2 separate regions of the Homo sapiens genome follow, and region 1 is linked to region 2. The links are contacts of gene promoters, found by promoter capture Hi-C in human tissues and cell types (Jung and others, 2019). All regions are on one chromosome and are shown on one strand. Each heading gives the region's core, a stretch centred on a gene start or on the middle of the fragment in contact. The rest is flanking DNA. Distances are from core to core; before and after follow the strand shown.

Region 1 (3,402 bases), core at 109-2,608, 170 kb after region 2:
CCCAGTAATGGGATTGCTGGGTTCAGTAGTATTTCTGTTTTTAGGTCTTTGAGGAATTACCACACTGTTTTCCACATTGGTTGAACTAGTTTACACTCCTACCAACAGTGTGTAAATGTTCCTTTTTCTCTGCAACTTTGTCAACACCTATTATTTTTTGACTTTTTAGTAAGAGCCATTCTAACCGGTGTGAGATGGTATCTCATTGTGGTTTTGATTTGCATTTCTCTAATGATCAGTGATATTGGGCTTTTTTTCATATGCTTGTTGGCCGCGTGTATGTCTATGTCTTTTGAAAAGTGTCTGTTCATGTCCTTTGCCCACTTCTTAATGAGATTATTTTTATCTTGTAAATATGTTTAAGTCCCTTATAGATGCTGGATATGAGACCTTGGTCAGATGCATAGTCCGAAAAATTTTCTCCCATTCTATAAGCTCTCTGTTCACACTGTTGATAGTTTCTTTTGCTGTGCAGAAGCTTTGTAGTTTAATTAGATCCTATTTGTCAATTTTTGCTTTTGTTGCAACTTCTTTTGGCACCTTTGTCATGAAATCTTTGCCCATTCCTATGTCCAGAATGGTACTGCCTAGATTTTCTTCCAGGGTTTTTATAGTTTTGGGTTTATATTTAATTCTTTAATCCATCTTGAGTTAATTTTTTTATATAGTGTAAGGAAAGTGTCTGTTTTCCATCTTCTGAGTATGGCTAGACCGTTATCCCAGCACCATTTGTTGAATAGGGAGTCCTTCCCCATTGTTTGCTTTGGTCAGCTTTTTCAAAGATCAGATGGTTGTAGATATGTGGCCTTATTTCTGGGCTCTCTGTTCTGTTCCATTTTTGTACCAGTACCATGCTGTTTTGGTTACTGTAGCCCTGTAATATAGTTTGCAGTCAGGTAACATGATGCCTCCTGCTTTGTTCTTTTTGCTTAAGATTGCCTTGGGTATTCAGGTTCTTTTTTGGTTCAATATGATTTTTAAAATAGTTTTTTTTAGTTCTATGAAGAATATCATTGGTAGTTTAATAAGAATAGCATTGAATCTATACATTGATTTGGGCAGTATGGCTATTTTAACAATATTGATTCTTCCTGTCCATGAGCATGGAATGTTTTTCCATTTGTTTGTATCATCTCTGATTTCTTTGAGCAGTGTATTGTAGTTCTCCTTGTAGAGATCTTTCACTTCCCTGGTTAGCTGTATTCCTAGGTATTTTATTCTTTTTGTGCCAGTTGTGAATGGGATTGCATTCCTGATTTGGCTCTTGGCTTAACTGTTGTTGGTGTATAGGAATGTTAGTGATTTTTGTACATTAATTTTGTATCCTGAGACTTTGCTGAAGTTGTTTATCAGCTTAAGGAGCTTTTGGGACAAGAGTATGTAGCCTTATGACCATCTTAACTAAAAGAAGGAAAGAAGAAGCTTTTAAATGAATTAATCTGGCATCATTCCTGAAATATGGTGACAGATTTATTGCTGTTTAATCGTCATGAACTCAGAAAGACATAATCTTCATAAGTTTTAATTACTGGGAAAATTATTTCTTACTCTACTGACATCTTGTGGCCAAATAGTACAATTAATGTTATTAGGATGGCTATCTTACCAAAGTCCTTAAAATATTAACTTATTTTCTGTTCAACAGATAATTATTGAGCACTTAAGCAGTATTTTTTCAAAATATAATCAGCTTTCAGTTAACTAGGCTAGTAAAATGGAACCTAGCACCAGTACTTAAAAACCAATTTTATACTTTGGCTTTAGAAAGTATACCATAAAGATAAGTATAAAGAAGAAATATAAATCACAATAATCTTACTAATCAGAAATATTGTGTCAATGTTTTGATGTTTTACTGACTGTTTTTTTTAGTACGTAGATTCATTCATTTGTACATTCATTTAATAAATATTTATTGAGCACCTATCATGTGCCAGACACTGTTTTAAACACTGAAGATATAATGATGAGCATAAACTTTGTCTTTTTAGACTTTATCATCTGGAGGGTAAGATGAGGAAACTTGGAGAATGTAGTAATAGATAAATCTGGGAAGAGAAAAAGGGACTGTACCAAGTAGCCTCTTGTAAGCCATAGTAAGATTCCCTTTACCTCAAGAGCAATGGAAAGAGAGTTGCATTTTGAAAAGTTTGTTTTCTTAGCAAGCCAAAGAAAAAGCTATTGTGTTCCAAACAAGGCAAAAATGTTTGAATCAGAGCAGTTATGATGGAGAGAAGTTGGTGAATTCCAGAAATATTTAGGATGCAAAATCTGCATGCTTTGGTGATGAATTGGACATGGGAGAAAGAAGGTGTCAAGGATGACTCCTAGGTTTCTGGTTTGCACACTGGGATAGTGGTGCCATTCAGTGAGATAAGGACTGCAGTAAGATCACATTTGTAGGGAAGGTCACTATTTCAATTTTGGACATAGGCCTTTGAGATATCCAAAAGAAAATGCTCGGTAGGCCACTGCATATATAAGTGCAGTCAGTACATTTGAGAATCATTTAGTAGCTGATGGACGTAGGCATGGCAGTGTTTCAAAGAGGGGCGAGATCAGGAATATCAAATGCAGCTGAGAGGTCAAGTAAGATGGGAAATCTGTTTGATTTAGCAACATATGTACATCATTGGTGACTTGAGCAGTTGCTGTTAGGGGAATGATGTGACTCAGTGCCAAGACTGAAGTAGATTAGAGAGTAAAAGTGATGAAATGGAAAATGTCAGTAGAGGCCTGCTCCTAAAAGAAGTTTGTGAAGAGGTAAAAAGATGGTGGGAATGAGGAGAAACTAGAGAATAGTTATTGAGTAAAGGTTTTGTTTCATTTATTTTGATGGGAGGGATTTGAGCATGTTTAAAAGCCAAATAGGAAGGATTCTGTTGACAGGGGAAGGATACATATGTAGGAGAGAAAAGTAGGATTAAGAATATAATGGCATTCACAGCAATTTGGATGGAATTGGAGACCATTATTCTAAGTGAAGTAACTCAGGAATGGAAAACCAAACATCATATGTTCTCACTCATAAGTGGGAGCTAAGCCATAAGGATGCAAAGGCATAAGAATGATACAGTGGACTTTGGGGACTCAGGGAAAAAAGCAGGAGGGAGGTGAGGGATAAAAGACCACACATTGGGTACAGTGTACACTGCTTGGGTGATGGGTGCACCAGAATCTCAGAAATTACTTAAAGAACTTATTCATGTAACCAAACACCACCTGTTCCCCTAAACACCTATTAAAATAAGAAATAAATTTTTTAAAACTGTAAAGTTTCTGAGAAGTCAAGCAGGGATGAGAGCCACTGCATAGCCTTTACGGATTATAAGCATTCTTATTACTTTTTTTAGTCACAAATTTTAATGGCTGCTTCAATTAGTATGTATCTGTATATCAACA
Region 2 (3,735 bases), core at 1-2,500:
TTGGTGAGAATTCCCATCTCCCCTTGTTTTCCCTCCTTCCTTCCCAGATCCAGGAGATAATCAACTAAGAGCCAGGCACCCTTTTAAGTCCAATATAAAACAATTTACAACCTGCTCTCTCTAAAGTCTATCTAAGAGCTTCCTCTGCACAATAAAACTTGGTCTCCACAATCCTTTATCTCTAGCCTGAACATTCCTTTTTATGGATCCCAGGTCTTTAGATAACCTCAACCAGATAACGTTTACATTTACCGATTGAGTTGCCCCGCCTTTCTAAACTAAACCAATGTATTTCTTAAATGTATTTGATGTCTCACGCCTTCCTAAAATAGATAAAACCAAGCTGTACCCCAATTTCCTTGGGCACATGTTCTCAGGACCTCCTGAGGACTGTCACTGGCCATGGTCACTTGAATCTGGCTCAAAATAAATCTCTTCAAATATTTTTCAGAGTTTGATTCTTTTCATCAACCCATATCTATACCTTTTTACACCAAAAACATGTCTTTGCAAAATTACAGTTATTGGGAATAAGGCTTTTAACCTAATCTGGGGACTATCAAATATACTAATAAATATTTTTCTTAAAAAAATTCTTTGTTTAAACTGCCAGATTCCAACTTCCAGAAAAATTCCAACAGAAATGCAACCGAGGGTCTAGAATTACTATCCTAAATCTCCGAAAATGTACAGGGGGTGGCGGGCGGGGCAGGGACGGCTCTAGGTGAGCAGGAAAAAGCTTGGAACTCAGTCTTCCAATGGCGAAAGGGAACGTGCTCCTGCTGGGCGGGACGGCGGACGGCTGGCGGCGGCGCGGCCTCCAATTCTCGCCAACGCGCCCCGCACCCCCGTGCACTGGCGGGCCCTCCCCTCGGGCGTTGCCTCCCACCCACGCCCGGCGGCACCGCACCCCGAGGCGCTTCACGTCACGGAGCTGCTAGGAGACGGGCGGGGCTCCGGTTCCGGGTAGAGGCCTGGGACACGGGGAACTGTAAGGATGGGAGGAAGGCCGCGCAGGGGCACCAGTTCTGCCGCCGCGGCCTAGCGCCCCAGGTCCCGGAGAAGGGGCACCAGGGCGGCCAGGGGCCCAAGCTTCCGGGGCACGCTCACCCGCGCAGGACTGAGGCCGCGTCCGCTCCCGCTCCCGCTCGGGCCGTCTCCCCCTTCCAGGCTCCAGGCCAGGCTTCCGCCCGACAAGCCCTGACCCGCTCGTCAGGACTGCGGCCCGGGGTTGGTGGTGCGGAGCGGAGCGGAGCGGAGCGTAGAGTAGAATCCACTTCCCCGGGTTTTGGGAGGGGGCCGCAGCCCGCTTTCCGGGCGGCGGGGAGGCGGGGCCACCGCGGGGGCGGAGCTCGGCTGGGAGCCGGCAGTGGCTTGGGAGGGAGGGAGGGAGAAGGAGAGGGGCGGGAAGGCTCCTCGCGTTTTCCACGCCCCCGCCCAGCTCTGGGCTGGTGGTAAATCTCGGAACTGGTCCGGGCTGGGCGAGTTCTGGACGGAGGGGCACGTTTGGGAATCCTCTTGGAAGAATTTACGTAATCGAATGGGCTGGGACTGGTGGAAAAGAGTTGGACCGTCCGGAAAGAAGCAGGAGGGCGGCGCGGGGGCCTGGCACCCTTAGAAAGTGGGAAGTGTGAGTGTAAAAGGGAGGGGCACTTCTGCCCGTTGGGCCCAAAAACCCTTTTCTGGCTTTAGCTAGTAGAGCCACTCAAAATTTAAACGGAGTCAGCTTGATGTGGCATATATGATAAGCTGGATAATATTTCCTGCACCACCGCACCCCTCCCCCCACCCCAACACCAACAAGAAAATAACACAAGTCACGGTTCTTGTTCCTTGTGGGCTGACATTTCCCTGTTTTGCCAACCTCTGGAGCCACGTGTCCCAAGCAGCTTGTAGTTGAGAAGTGATGGGGGAGAGGAGACAGCACGGGAGAGGAAGGAGGGAAGCCAGCTTATATTCAGGTGCCTTAAGTATTTAAAAATATTTTCAGTGTAATAGTCGATGCATTCAAAAGAGCATATTTACCAAATATGTAAAATTTAAAGTATGCTAATGAAACTATCACTCCACCACGTTATCAGTATTTAGCATGTATCTATGCATCTCCAGGATTCTACTCCTGGCCTCTTAGCTCACCACCACTATCTTCAGTTTTGTCCCTCTTTGCCATTTTTAGTGGTTTTATCATATTTGGATGCATTCCTGTGTATTGGTGTATTTTTCTTCTTTTTGAGCTTTATAAAAATACATATAGCCTGGAATTCGCTTTTTATCACTCAACATTTGTTTTTTTGGTTCATCCAAGTTGTTACGTGTAGTAACAGAACATTTATTTCTTACTGCCTAGTCAAAAGGAAGTTTTCTCCTGTCAGGAATGTATTCAATACTGTAGCGGATAGGATTATAAATGCACTTTAAGTATTTTCTTTATTGATGGGAACCACACAGACTAAATGTATCAGACTTCCCAAGTTCGTAGGTCACATACCTATAACAGAACTCTTTTCCTGGGTTTTGTGACATTTCTAATTGTTGTAATTTCTTTTGCCATTATAAAAATTAGTCACTTTTGAACCTAATTTGTATTCATCATTCTGAATCTTTTTCTTTAAAAGCCTCCTCTTTTCCAATTATATAAGCTCATACCCCATAAAACCTGAATCTGCCCCTAGTAATTACTAATAAGGCTAGTAGGAGCATTCTTGTTCACCTTCTGTGCATGCGCTGGACTCTAATTTGAACCTAGGATTAGCACTGCGGCATCAGAGGCTATGGGGGCTGTTCAGCTTTCAAAGATAAAGCAGAAATGTTTTCAAAGTGGTTGTACCAATCTATACTGCCACCAGTACCGACCACAATTCTCTCTAAATCCTCGTTATTTTCACACTTCTTACTTTTTGCTAGTCTACCCAGAATAAATACCATGTTTTTGTCTTAATTTGCATTCCGTAATTACTGATAAGGCTGAGCACTTTGAAATATGTTATTCATTCATGTTTTCTCTTCCTCTTCTAAGGATGTGTGTGTGTGTACATATATAAATGTATATATAATGTATATATGTATATATAATGAAACATTCTTTTGTTAATTGTAGGTGTTGCAGATATCTTCTCCCTGTTTATAGTGTGTTTTCAAATAAAAAAATTTTTTGACTTATTTTGAAAAAATCAACCTTATCAAAAAGTTTCAGAATTAATGAACTCCTGTATACCCTTCACATAAGTTCACAGTTTGCTATATTTGCTATATTAGTGTGTAGGAGAGATTATATATATAAAATATGTATACTATAGATATATATTTTTTTCTGAACCATTTAGGAGTAAGTTGTAGCATGTGTCTCCAAAGACAATGATATTCTCTTTTATACTCACAGAAAAATGTTCCAGTTGAGGTTGTTTGTTTTTTGAGACAAGGTCTCACTCTGTTACCCAGGCTGGAGTGCAGTGGTGCGATCTCGGCTCATTGCAACCACCTCCCGGGCTCAAGTGAGGCTCCCACCTCAGCATCCCGAGTAGCTAGGACTACAGGCACACCCCACCTGTTAGAGAGAATTTTTTTGTTGTTAGAGATGGGGTTTTGCCATGTTGCCCACGGTGGTCTCCAACTGCTAGGCTCAAGCTATCCACTTGCCTTGGCCTCCGAAAGTGCTGGGATTACAGGTATGAGCCACTGGGCCTGGCTCAAATTTAGGTAGTTTAACATTGATGAAGTAAGAGTAGCTAGGACTAC

The links. The method cuts DNA at HindIII sites, captures the fragments that hold promoters and counts their contacts. A contact is called where the count stands out against the background at its distance.
Region 1: a fragment that was not itself captured here is called in contact with the fragment with the promoter of DDX59 in region 2 in 1 of the 25 tissues and cell types used here (mesendoderm cells).

Annotation. Positions count from the first base shown.
Region 1 is chr1:200,836,604-200,840,005 of GRCh38, forward strand. All of the region lies in intron 6 of CAMSAP2 (calmodulin regulated spectrin associated protein family member 2), which reads left to right. Among named protein-coding and RNA genes, the nearest start is that of GPR25, 35 kb to the right of the region's middle. The HindIII fragment of the contact is 5,148 bases long and covers 1-3,402 here.
Region 2 is chr1:200,668,657-200,672,391 of GRCh38, forward strand. It overlaps DDX59 (DEAD-box helicase 59), which reads right to left and starts at 1,251. Exons shown (of 8, transcript NM_001031725.6): 1 at 1,111-1,251. It overlaps DDX59-AS1 (DDX59 antisense RNA 1), which reads left to right and starts at 851. Exons shown (of 3, transcript NR_110787.1): 1 at 851-966. RefSeq lists a silencer at 665-1,404. The HindIII fragment of the contact is 3,952 bases long and covers 916-3,735 here.